Regions from separate parts of the Homo sapiens genome. Here region 1 is linked to region 2. Evidence: promoter capture Hi-C in human tissues and cell types (Jung and others, 2019). All regions are on one chromosome and are shown on one strand. The core of a region is centred on a gene start or on the middle of the fragment in contact, and the rest is flanking DNA. Distances in the headings are between cores, read along the strand shown.

The links. Contacts are between HindIII fragments. The study calls those that stand out against the background at their distance.
Region 1: a contact is called between a fragment that was not itself captured here and the fragment with the promoter of PLEKHM3 in region 2, in 1 of the 25 tissues and cell types used here (spleen).

Annotation. Positions count from the first base shown.
Region 1 is chr2:207,649,760-207,656,702 of GRCh38, reverse strand. It overlaps the pseudogene RPS29P9. Among named protein-coding and RNA genes, the nearest start is that of LINC01857, 9.2 kb to the left of the region's middle. The HindIII fragment of the contact is 8,714 bases long and covers 1-6,943 here.
Region 2 is chr2:208,021,886-208,028,130 of GRCh38, reverse strand. It overlaps PLEKHM3 (pleckstrin homology domain containing M3), which reads left to right and starts at 2,604. Exons shown (of 8, transcript NM_001080475.3): 1 at 2,604-2,742. The HindIII fragment of the contact is 4,894 bases long and covers 1,293-6,186 here.

The DNA of each region.
Region 1 (6,943 bases), core at 2,269-4,768, 370 kb after region 2:
TAAGACTTCTGTAGAAGACATGAAGCCACCATCTCTCTTGTAAGCTATTTGCTAATTTGTCTGTTTATTTCCTACTGTGTTCCAAAAAGGGAACAACTAATATTAATAGATTGATGTATATAGCACAATGCAAAGCAGTCAGATCCCACCTGCAACTAGAATTTCTCAAATACTCTACTTGGGTATATTTTGGAACCTCAACTGATTTGGAGGAATACACATGAAAGGCATAATTCCCAGAATGCTAGAATTACAGAGCAACTTCAGAAAAAGTTTAATTACTACCTTCCTAAGGTGTCCCAATGCTGCTGTATGTACTCCTCCTGTTACTTTGCACCTAAAATTTTAAAAATAAATATTTATGCCTGTAAAATTCCTAGTATGGATCGTACACCACTGTTGACCTTCATACTGTGACTGCACTGTCTGCTGAAGGAAAAGGAAATCATATTTGTGGAATATACAGTGTTTGGTTTTGGTATTTAGAGTTCCCAGGCCTGATAGGATTCCCTTTCCATACCTGAGAGGAGGCACAGATGGTTTGTGATGTTGGTGTGTAAGGCTACCGCTGGGATCTCTAGATAAATACATGAGACAATCTGGGGAGAAGTAGAGCAAGAGTGTAGTGGAAATGTTTGGATTGGATTTAATAAACATTAAGACACATGGGAACAAATGCAAAATTCTGGACTCTGTTATAGCCCATGAATGCAATTTGATGCTGTCATTAGTGTTGCCCTCTGCAAAATGAAGTCTTTTCTGACTGAATGTATTTTCTGGTCTGGGGCCATTACTTGTCAACAATTAATGGTGTAATTGTTCTTGGGCCTTTACGTTAAAAATGCATGATGATCTGGCTGGACATGGTGGCTCACACCTGTAATCCCAGCACTTTGGGAGGCCGAGGCAGGTGAATCACCTGAGGTCAGGAGTTCGAGAACTCCAGGCCCAGCCTGGCCAACACGGTGAAACCTTGTCTCTACTAAAAATAAAAAATTAGCTGGGTATGGTGGCATGCGCCTGTAGTCCCAGCTACTCGGGAGGCTGAGGCAGGAGAATTGCTTGAACCCAAAAGGCGGAGGTTCAGTGAGCCGAGATCGTGCCACTGCACTCCAACCTGGGTGACAGAGTGAGACTCCGTCTCCAAAAAAAGGAAAAAGCATGATGATTATGATAATGGAGGAATGGAATTAAAACTCTTTCCCTGTGTAGTCCCAGCTACTCAGGAGGCTGAGGCAGGAGAATGGCGTGAACCCAGGAGGCGGAGCTTGCAGTGAGCCGAGATCGCACCACTGCACTCCAGCCTGGGCGACAGAGCAAGACTCCGTGTCAAAAAAAACAAAACAAAAAACAAAACAAAACAAAAAAACCTCTCCCTGACATCGAAGGCCTTAGACAGCAGGGATCTAACCCACGTTTAAAGCTTAATCTCTCCCCTATGCAAAACTTTGTGAGGAAAACTAGTTACTCAACATTCTCTCTCCACCACTATTGCTTTATTAGTGCTCATTGCTCCTTCTGGAATGCTGCTCTTACTAAGGCTGTCTGGCAGTTCTGTCAAGGATCATTTCAAATGCTACTTCCTCCATGATACACCTCTTCTATGAACTCTTTTCTACTCTGATGAAGTTTCTTTTCTCTTTTTTTTTAATTAAAGATTTTTTAAAAATAAATGTTTATTTTATGTACAAAAAAGCATCATGGTTTTTCATTGGGTAGATGCCTTGGATTATCCTTTGAAGGAAGATCATTTAGTTCAACTTAATGAAACCGATATCCTTCACATACTGACGGAAACACTGGCTGCACTTATTGAGGCCGTATTTCCGGATCAGACCGTGCTGGTTTGAGCAGACGCGACAAGAGCGAGAACCGCGGCCAAATTTTCGCGGGTGGCTCCAGTACAGTTCTTGGTGACCCATCTTGCTCTCAGGAGTTTAACATGGTAAAAGTAAAAAAAAAAAATTTTTTTTTTTTTTGAGGCAGAGTTTCGCTCTTGTCGCCCAGGCTGGAGTGCAGTAGCACGATTTTGGCTCACCATAACCTCTGCCTCCCGGGTTCAAGCCATTCTCCTGCCTCAGCCTCCCGAGTAGCTGGGATTACAGGCATGTGCCACCACACCTGGCTAATTTTGTATTTTTAGTTGAGACAGGGTTTCTCCATTGTTGGTCAGGCTGGTCTCGAACTCCCAACCTCAGGTGATCAGCTCACCTTGGCCTCCCAAAGTGCTAGGATTACAGGCGTGAGCCACTGCGCCTGGCCAAGATTTTTTTTTTCAAGATCAGTTTTAGGTTCACAGCAACATGGAGAGGAAGGTAAACAGATACCTCATATACTTGTCCCCACAGATGCATAACCTTTACCATTATCAACATCCTGCACCAGAGGGGTGCACTCGTTACAACTGATGACGCCATACTGACACATCATATCCCCCAAAGCCCATAGTTTATATTAGTGCTCTCGGTGTTATTCATCCTACGGGTTTGCACAAATGTATAGTGAAATGTATCCACCATGACAGTATCATGCAGAGTATTTTCACTGCACTAACCCCAGGCTCCAACCCTTAGCAACCACCGATATTTTTACTGTCTCCATAGTTTTGCCTTTTCCAAAATGTCATGCAGTAAGCAGCCTTTTTTGGATTGGATTCTTTCGCTTAGTAATATGCATTTAAGTTTTCTTCGTAACTTTTTTTTTGAGACAGCCTCACTTTGCTGCCCAGACTGCAATGCAGTGATGCGATCTCGGCTCACTGCAACCTCCGCCTCCTGTTTTTCAGCGATTCTTTGCCTCAGCCGCTTGAGTAGCTGGGTTTACAAGCATATGCCACCAAACCTGGCTAATTTTTGTATTTTTAGTAGAGATAGAGTTTCACCATGTTGCCCAGGCTGGTCTCCAATTTCTGGCCTCAAGTGATCCACCCGCCTCGGCCTCCCAAAGTGTTGAGGTTACAAGCGTGAGCCACTGTTCCTGGCCGCTTCATAACTTTTTATGGCTTGAGAGCTCTTTTTTTTTTTTTCTTTTCCTTCCCTTCCCTCCCTGCCTCCCCTCTCCCTCCCTCTCTGCCTCCTTTCCCAGCTCCTCTCTGCCTCCATCCTCCCTCTCTCCTCCCCTCCCCTCCCCTCCCCTCCCATTCTCTTCCCTTTCCTCCTTCTTTTCTTGTTTTTTGAGGCAGGGTCTTGCTCTGTCACCCAGGCTGGAGTGCAGTGGTGTGGTCATGGCTCACTGCAGCCTCAACTTCCCGGAGTCAAGTTATCCTCCCATCTCAGCCTCCCAAGTAGCTGAGACTACAGGCATGCACCACCATGCCTAGCTAATTTTTAAATTTTTTGTAGAGACGAGGTCTCACTATGTTGCCCAGACTAGTCTTAAACTCCTGAGCTCAAGTGATTGTCCCACCTCAGCCTCCGAAAGTGCCAGGATTACAGGTGTGAGCCACCATTCCCCACCCTGGACATAAGTTTTTAACTCCTTTGGGTAGACACCAAGGAGCATGATTGCTGGATCATGTGGTAAAAGTATGTTTAGTTTTGTAAGAAACTCCCAAATGGTCTTCCAAACTAGTTGCACCATTTTTGCATTCCCACCAGCAACAGCTCCTGTTGCTCTATGTCCTCACCAGCATTTGTTGTCAGTGTTCTGAATTCTGGTCACTCTAATAGGTGTGAGGTGGTGTCTGTTTGAATTTGCTTTCCCTTGATGACATATGATGTGGAGTATTTCGTCATATGCTTATTTGCCATCTACAACCTGTTTGGTGAGGCGTCTGTTAAGGTGTTTGGCCAATTTTTAAATCAAGTTGTTTTTTTTCTTATTGTTGAGTTTTAAGAATTCTTTGGTCTCGGTGCAGTGACTCATGCCTGTAATCCCAGCACTTTGGGAGGCCGAGGTGGGTGGATCACCTGACATCAAGAGTTCAAGACCAGCCTGGCCAACATGGCGAAACCCCATCTCTACTAAAAATACAAAAATTATCCAGGCGTGGTGACGTGTGCCTGTAATCTCAGTTACTCGGGAGGCTGAGGCAGGAGAATCACCTGAACCCAGGAGGCAGAGGTTGCAGTGAGCCGAGATCGTGCCACTACATACCAGTTTGGCAACAGAGCAGGACTCCGTCTCAAAAAAAAAAAATTCTTTGTATCTTAGGTAATAATCTTAATATATCTTTTGAAGATATTTTGTCCTAGTCTGTGGCTTACCTTCTCATTCTCTTGACATATTCTTTCACAGAGCAGAAGTTTTTAATTTGAATGAAGTCCAGCTTATTTATTATTTCTTTCATGGATCATGCCTTTGATGTTGTATTTAAAAAGTCATCACCATACCTGAGCGTATCTAGGTTTTTCTCCTATATTTTCTTCTAGGAGTTTGTTTGTTTGTTTTTGGAGTTGGAGTCTTGCTTTGTCGCCCAGGCTGGGGTGCAGTGGCGCTATCTCGGCTCACTGCAAGCTCCGCCTCCTGGGTTCACGCCATTCTCCTGCCTCAGCCTCCTGAGTAGCTGGGACTACAGGTGCCTGCCACCATGCCCTGCTAATTTTTTTTTTTTTTGTATTTTTAGTAGAGACGGGGTTTCACCGTGTTAGCCAGGATGGTCTCAATCTCCTGAACTCGTGATCTGCCCACCTCGGCCTCCCAAAGTGCTGGGATTACAGGCGTGAGCCACCGTGCCCGGCCTAATTTTGTATTTTTAATAGAGACAGGGTTTCTCCATGTTGGTCAGGCTGATCTCGAACTCCCGACCTCAGGTGATCTGCCCTCCTCGGCCTCCCAGAGTGCTGGGATTACAGGCATGAGCCACCGTGCCCGGCCTGAAATCTGATGTTTTATTCCTACAGAGCTAGAGCCATTTCCTTGACTATTACAACTTGGTATCCTTTTAGTGCTTGGCTCATTTCATTTCATATGGCAGGTGCTCAAAAAGTATTTATTAAAATGAACTGAAAAATCAGAGACAAACACAAAGGAAATATAAATTAGGTTATACTATTAAAACATAGTTTGAGATGTCTGATGACACAAAAATACTCTCTCAACCCTATTTTTCATTGAGAAAAATGCCTCTTCCCCCAAGTCATTTGTTTTATAGGTTAAGTGCTTACACTTTGAGATCAGTTGTCACTTGGTTCTTGGCAAAGAGAAAATAAGATGTTTTGAGAATTGACGGTCATTCTGGTTGAATACGGATGCCAAGTTTTCTTCTGGGTATAAGAGCCAGATGGCATAACTGTGAACAGGTAACAGCAGGATGAAAGCTATCCCTCTTTGATTGCCAGATACTTGGGTCAGATTTTCAGATGATACATAATTAGTGGACAGGGGCCCTTGGCCAATAGCACATCCATTCACATTTCAATTAGAGTTGCATGGTAAGGGGATGATATTATTATTGCTGGTATTATTTCTGCAGTTGAGCTAAGTACTAAAAAAGGGAGATAGTCCCAAGCCCAAAATGTCATCAGGCCAAAATGAGACTGGGTCACCAGCCCTCCAAATCAAACTTCAGGCTAATTCAATATGATCGAATGAGGTATTAGAAAGTCAGAATTTAAAGCCTGAAGAGTAAGAAAGGGGAGGTGATCAGAAGTGTGGAATACAGCTTTTCTTTTGTGTATTAAAGTTACACTTCAATCTCCTCTCAGAGTGCTTCTTTTTTTTAACCTCTTTCACCCACTTTATTTGTCCTACATCTCAATAAGCAAGCTCCCTGTGGAGCCACTTTTCTCTCTCCATTCAGAGACATGTTCCCATGATTTCTTTCTGCTTGGATTGTATGATTTACCTGGCTGGCCTCCTGTTCCATCAGATTGTTTCCCATAAAAATGCTGATGAACATTCATTTTTGAGAATTTTTCCAATTTTTTTTTTTTGCTTTTTCCTTAAACAAAAAGCCAAACACATAATTTCTCATAGCAAGTAGACTAATTATGATTTAGACCTGTTTTGGGGGACCCATTCATAGTCATAAAAATCAACTTACTGAGGCCGGGTGTGGTGGCTCACACCTGTAATCCCAGCACTTTGGGAGGCCGAGGTGGGTGGATCACTTGAGGTCAGGAGTTCAAGACTAGCCTTCCCAACATGGTGAAATTCCGTCTCTACTAAAAATGCCAAATTAGCCGGGTGTGGTGGTGCATGCCTATAATCCCAGCTGCTCAGGAGGCTGAGGCAGGAGAATCGCTTGAATGGGCGAGGCAGAGGTTGTGGTGAGCCAAGATCATGCCATAGCACTCCAGCCTGGGCAACAAGAGTGAGACTCCATCTCAAAGAAAAAAAAGAAAAGAAAAAAATTTCCTTTTGCCTCATAGTACATAACAACATATAAGTAACATAAATAGGTGTTTATGTAACATAAATAGGTATTTATATAAGTAACATAAATAGGAGGTCTGGAGGTCGAGACCAGCCTGACTAATATGGTGAAACCCTGTCTCTACTAAAAATATAAAAATTAACTGGGCGCAGTGGCAGGTGCCTGTAATCCCAGCTACTTGGGAGGCTGAGGCTTGAGAATCGCTTGAGCCCAGGAGGCAGAGATTGCAGTGAACCAATGTGGTGCCACTGCACTCCAGCCTGGGCGACAGAGCCAGACTCTGTCTCAAAAACAAACAAACAAAAAAACAGCTTTATAGAGATGTAATTCACATACTGTAGCATTCACCCAGTTAAAGTGTACAAAAGAGTACTTTTAGTATGCTTAGAGTTGTACAACATCATCAACCAAAAAAGAAATCCTGTACCCATTAGCGATGAATCTCCATTCTCCACCCCACAACCCTAATTAACCACCATTATTTTTTCTGTCTCTATAGATTTGCTTCTTCTCGATATTTCACATAAATATCATCATACAATACATGTAGCCACACATACATACATAAATATGGTCTTTTGTGACTGACTTCTTTCACTGAGCATAATGTTTTCAAGGTTTATCCAT
Region 2 (6,245 bases), core at 1,355-3,854:
CCCAAGTAGCTTGGACTACAGGCACCAGCCACCACATCCGGGTAATTTTTTGTATTTTTCGTAGAGACAGTGTTTCGCCATGTTGGCCAGGCTGGTCTCAAACTCCTGACCTCAGGTGATCCGGCCGCCTCAGCCTCCCAAAGTACTGGGATTACAGGCATGAGCCACCACACCCGGCCTAGGAATCTGCATTTTTAACAGCATTCAAGAACCTTGACACTCAAAATGCAGCATCACTTAGGAGATCATGACTGTTGGAGAGGCCCCATCCCAGACTTACTGTATCAGATTCTGCATTTTGACAGAATTCTTACCCGTTAAAGTTTGAGAAACACCATCCTAGAAGATTCTGTTCCATGTGAATTTTGAGAACCACCAATCCAATGGAAGACTGATCTGTGTAGCACAATGTAATGGGTACATTTATAAAGGAACACATGAGATCCTCTAGGAGTGCATAAAAGGAGCAGGTTCCCCTATCAGGCAAGGTTTCCAGAAGAGGTGTGATGTCATCTGCTTTTTTTTTTTTTTTGAGACAGCGTCTCGCTCTTTTGCACAGGCTGGAGTGCACTGGCTCAATATCAGCTCACTGCAACCTGCGTCTCCTGAGTCCAAACGATTCTAGTGCCTCAGCCTCCTAAGTAGCTGGGATTACAGGTCGTGTGCCACCATGCCTGGCTAATTTTCGTTTTAGTAGAGACAGGGTTTCACTATGTTGCCCAGGCTGGTCTCGAACTGCTGGCCTCAATCAATCCACCCGCCTCGACCTCCCAAAGTGCTGGGATTACAGGCGTGCACCGCCATGCTCTGCTAATTTTTGTATTTTTAGTAGAGATGAGGTTTTATCATGTTGGTCAGTCTGGTCTCGAACCGCTGGCCTCCAGCGATCCACCCGCCTTGGCCTCCCTAAGTGCGTGGATTACAGGCACGAGCTACCACACCCGGCCTTTTTTTTTTTTTTTTTTAGAGTGAAAGTTTATTAAAAAGCTTTAGAGTAGTAATGAAGGGAAGGAAAAGAAGAAAAGAACACTTGGAAGAAGACCAAGCAAGTGACTTGAGAGACCAAGCACCTGTTACCTGCTTCTTAAAGAGCAAAGAGAAATTAGCCAGCCTAAGTAAGAGGATGGGCCAGGAGTGAGAACTCTCATCAGAGGGAATCACATGTACAAAGTCCTGAGGCAAAAGAGAATACTGCAAATATTCTCTTTTGGTAATTAAAACAAAACAAAACAAAAAATGTACCTCTGGCCAGGTGAGGTGGCTCACACCTGTAATCCCAGCACTTTGGAAGGCAAGGAAGAAGGATTGCCTGAGGCCAGGAGTTCAGGATCATCCTGGGCAACACAGGGAGACCTTGCCTTTACAAAAAAAAAAAAAAGAGAAAGAAAGAAAAAAGAAGTTAGCCACGTTGTGGTGATGCGTGCCTGTAGTCCTAGCTACTCAGGAGGCTGAGTTGGGGGGATCCCTTGAACCCAGGAGTTCAGGGCTGCAGTGAGCTATGATCGTGCGACTGCACTCTGGCCGGGGCACAGAGTGAGATCCTGTCTCTAGCAAAACAGAAAAAAAAGTACCTCAAATTGCAGGGTTTAAAGAAAGCTTATTTAAACTTTGAATATCAACCAAAGGAAATTTTTTCTTAACTCAAAGCTTAAAGATTTGCTTATTAATCTTCTGGAGGGTGGGAAGGTGGGAAGAGGAATCAGAGTTTTAGATTTCTGTTTCATCCCTGACCCCTTTGACCTTTTTTTTTTTTTATCATTCCTTTGTTCATTCATTTATTCAGATATATATACATTGGGCCTGTGCTAGGTGCCTACTAGATGGTGGTGAGTGAAACTGAAATAGTGCCTGCCCTCAGGGAGTTTATAGGTGAGATGGGTGAGCGTGGGAAAACCAATAAAACTGATAAATAAGTGTGTACTTATAAAGTGAGAAAATGGCTAAGAAGTGTGCTATGATGGAAAACAGACAGGAAACTGCAAGGAAGGTCTGTCCAATCAGACCAGCATATCCCTGCAAAGCGACCACAGTCACTGCAGGTGGGATGTGGGCGGTCTTACCAGGCAGTCCTGCCCGCGTGCACACACACGCACACCCTATTTTGCTGGGAATCCGCAAGTGGGGGTGAAGACCTCACCTCAAAACCACCCCTTTTCAACCTGCGTAGGAAAGGACAGTGAAAACGGATTTTCACTGCAGCCCCAAAACCGGAAATGAGAAGCAATCTCCAGAATAGTCCCACTTTTGGAAAGAACTTATTTGAGTAATTAATTCCCTTAGACAAGGGAGCTGCTAAAAACCAGCCCGATCCTGACATGTTCTAAGTGACATTTTCCAATCGCAAACACCCATTTTGGCGTTGGGTGGAGCAGTGAGGAGACTCCACGACACACGCCATTGCTTTCACAATGTGTACAAGAGGAACTGTATATAAGAAAGCAAAGAAATAAGGAGGCCTGGCGGGTGCGGTCAGGCCTTGCCTAGCTGCCGGGTCCCTCGGGCAGGAAAGACTCGTCCTCGCGGCCTGGAACCTTGTGTGTCCGGCTCTGGCTGCCCGGGCCGCCGGCGGAAGCATTTCAGAGTGGGACCGCGAGAAGCCGCTTGTAAACAGAGCCGGGCCGGGATGGTCAGCGCCCGGGCGGGCTGTCACCGTGAGGCGGGCGGCAGGCTGCGGGAGTCAAGCCCCTCCAGGAGCGGACTGAAGGCCCCGCAGGTGAATGGAGAGTAGCAGCCGGGGCCCAGGTGAGCATCCGTCTGCTTCTGTGCTGCCTGGCCGGCCAGTTTGGGGGATGGGGTGGGGACGACTGCATTGTAAATATCCGAGCAGCTCCCAGGGATAGCAGTGATTTTGCTGTTTCTTGCATGCTCAGGTTTTTATTACGTGCTGGAGATTGTACCACACTGCAATGGCTAATGGGTGAGGGGAGATTACATGATGCATTGTCTGCTTATTTTTGTGAATCAGGTATGTAATAGGAGGAGAAAGTAGTTGAAATAGTAGGTGATCTTGTTGAGTGCGTTATTAGTATCCCTGCCATCCCCGCCTGGGGATTATAAAACCAAACCCCAGCAGAGCTTTTAACCTACATCAGGCTGGGGCTTCCAGAAAACGATTGTTCTTTCTGTCGACTCTGTCCGTTTTTAATGTATAGTAAATGACACCACATGACTGATGACAAGCATGGTTTGGTCTTGTAGGAAAGAATTATTAAGCTAAAAAATCAAGATAAGAAAATCTCACACTCATCCCTTAAACAAAAATAAATTACTACTGAGATATATATTTGGATGACAAATTGAGACTGGTCTGGATGTATACCTTGCAAAGCAAGACAAATTTGAATTTACCAGGTTAAACTGAGATTGAGCCATGCTGTTGTAAACTTATTTAGAAGTTTATTTCTCTCTTCTTTTTTCTTCCTTGGAAGGGACCAGAGAGAAACAGCTGAATTTTTTTCTCTATATTTTAAGTAATCGTAGTGAGTTGTGATTTGTATTTATAAAGTATTTTATTATAAAATACTACATGTAAATTATAATTGGCATACTTAAAATACAAGGCAGTTTTTGACTGACTGACTTCAAGAAAATGCCTTAACAAAAGCTGGGCTATATATCTAGTCTCTAAAAATATCAGTAGACATTTGTAACCTTGGTCACATAGTCTTTTAGACAGGAGATGAATATTAGGTTAAATTGCACCTACAATAGATAGATATACATAGAAGAAATGATACTAATTCCTGATGAGTTTTTCTTTACAATGAATATTTTTACAATGTCATGGTTTATAGCAAAAACTATAAAGCCAGACTACTTCAGTTTGAATTCCTGCTTGGTCACTTCCTAGTTGTGTAATCTTGGGCAGTTTACTTAGCGCTTCTGTTTCCTAATCTGTAGAATGGGAATAATAATAGTATTGACCTCATTAGGGTTTTTATTATTGTTATTTTATTTTATTTTATTTTATTTTATTTTATTTTATTTTGAGACAGGGTCTTACTCTGTCATTCGGGCTGGAGTACAGTGGCGTGATCATGGCTCACTGCAGTCTCGACTTCCTGGACTCAAGCGATCCTTCCACCTCAGCCTCCCTTGTGGCTGGAACCATAGGCACAAGCCACCACGCCTGGCTAATTTTTGTACATTTGGTAGAGACAGGGTTTCGCCATGTTGCCCAGGCTGGTCTTGAACTCCTGAGCTCAAGGCTTAGAACCGTACCTGGCATATAGTAATTGCTATATACATGTTTGTTAATAAATATATAAAATAAAAATATGCCAGTGTTGAAAGTGGAATGGTGATTACCAGGGCCTGGAGGGAGGCAGGCAATGGGGATTTGTTGTTTAATGCTGCGGTCCCCTGGTGGTTTTTGGCACCAGGGACCGGAAGACCATTTTTCCACAGAGCGGGTGGTGTGGGGTCGGGGAGTAGGGGGGTGATAGTTACGGGATGAAACTGTTCCACCTCAGATCATTAGGCATTAGTTAGATTCTCATAAGGAGCGTGCAACCTAGATCCCTCGCACGCACAGTTCACAATAAGGTTTGCGCTCCTATGAGAATCTAATGCTGCTGCCGATCTGACAGGAGGCGGAGCTCAAACAGCAATGCGTGGCTGGTCCATCGCTCACTGTTGTGTGGCCCAGTTCCTAACAGGCCATGGACCCGTACTAGTCTACAGACATGGGGGTTGGGGACTCCTGGTTTAATGGGTATAGAGTTTCAGTTTTGCAAAATGAAAAGAGTTCTGGAGATTGGCTGCACAACAATGTGAATGTACTTAACAATACTGAACTGTACACTTAAAAATAGTTAAGATGGGGCTGGATATGATGGCTCAGGCCTGTAATTCCAGTGCTTTGGGAGGCTGAGGCGGGGGCATTGCTTGAACCCAAGAGTTGGAAGTTAAGTGAGGTATGATTACGCCACGCACACCAGCCTGGGCAACAGAGCAAGACCATGTCATAAAAAAAAAAAAGGTTAATATGGTAAATTTCATATTATATATATTTTACCACAATTTAAAACTTTTAAATACCAGTGTTAGCAAAGTTATGTTTTCAAAATTTTATTAGCATGCTGCAGCCCCATTCATAGTTAGTTGCCTTTGCCATTATGGAAATACAGCTTCTGGCAGTCAACAGTAAGATTCATTTTTTTAGTAGATTTGTGTAATTGAGGTTTAATTATAAAGAACACAAACAAATGATAAGAAACAACACCTAAGACTGTGGCAGGCAAAATTCTAAAAATGTCTCTCTACTAAAATTGCTGTCTGTAATCTGTGAAACCTGTGCATATAATAAGATATCACTTTCTCAATTATGTTATGTGGCACAGTTTAATTTAAAATGGTGAGATTTTCTGGGTGGGTCTAATCTAATCACAGGAGCCCATACAAGTTGGGAGCTTTCTCTGTCTGGGAAATTGGAGAGACTTAAAGTAGGGGAAGGACTCAACATACTGTGTTGCGGCTTCGAAGGTGGAGAGGAACTGTTGAGAAGGAATTTGGGCAGCCTTGAGGAGTGCTGGAGGCCTAGAGTTGCTGAGGGTGGCCCCAGCTAACAACCAGCATAGAAAGAAATGGGGACCTCTGACATAAGCCACAAGGAACTAGATTCTGTCAACAATCCCAATAAGCTTATAACTGGATTCTTTACCTGAGTTTCTATTAATAGATAAGAGCCCAGCCTGGCCACCACCTTGGTTTCAGCCTTGTGTGAGAGACTCTGAGCAGAAAACCCAGCCAAGCCCATCCAGTCTTCTGACCTTCAGAACTGTGAGAAAATGAATAGGTGTTGTTTTAAGCTACTTAAGTTTGTAGAAATTTGTTATGCAACCATAGAAAACTAATACAGAAAGAAAAATTGAAACAATAGCAAAGTATCATTTTTTCCAAATCTCAAATTAACATAAATTTTCAAAAATCCTCCTCAACAGTTAGTGTGCAGTGCAGCAGACACTTGCAAATGCTAGGAGGGATGCACACTTGCTGTAACCTTTCCGAACAGCTCATTGGTGAATGTATGAAAAGCCTCAATGATGCTCCTACCTTTTGACCCAGTTAATTCCACTTCTAGGGTCCATCCAAAGGAATTTATCAGAAATATTTTAAAAGTTAATGTTCAAAGATGCTCAATATAACTTTATTTAGGAAAAAACATATGTAATAACCTAAATGCCCCAAAATGGGAACAAATTATGGTGTCATCAATAGATACAGTGTTATATAGACACTAAAAA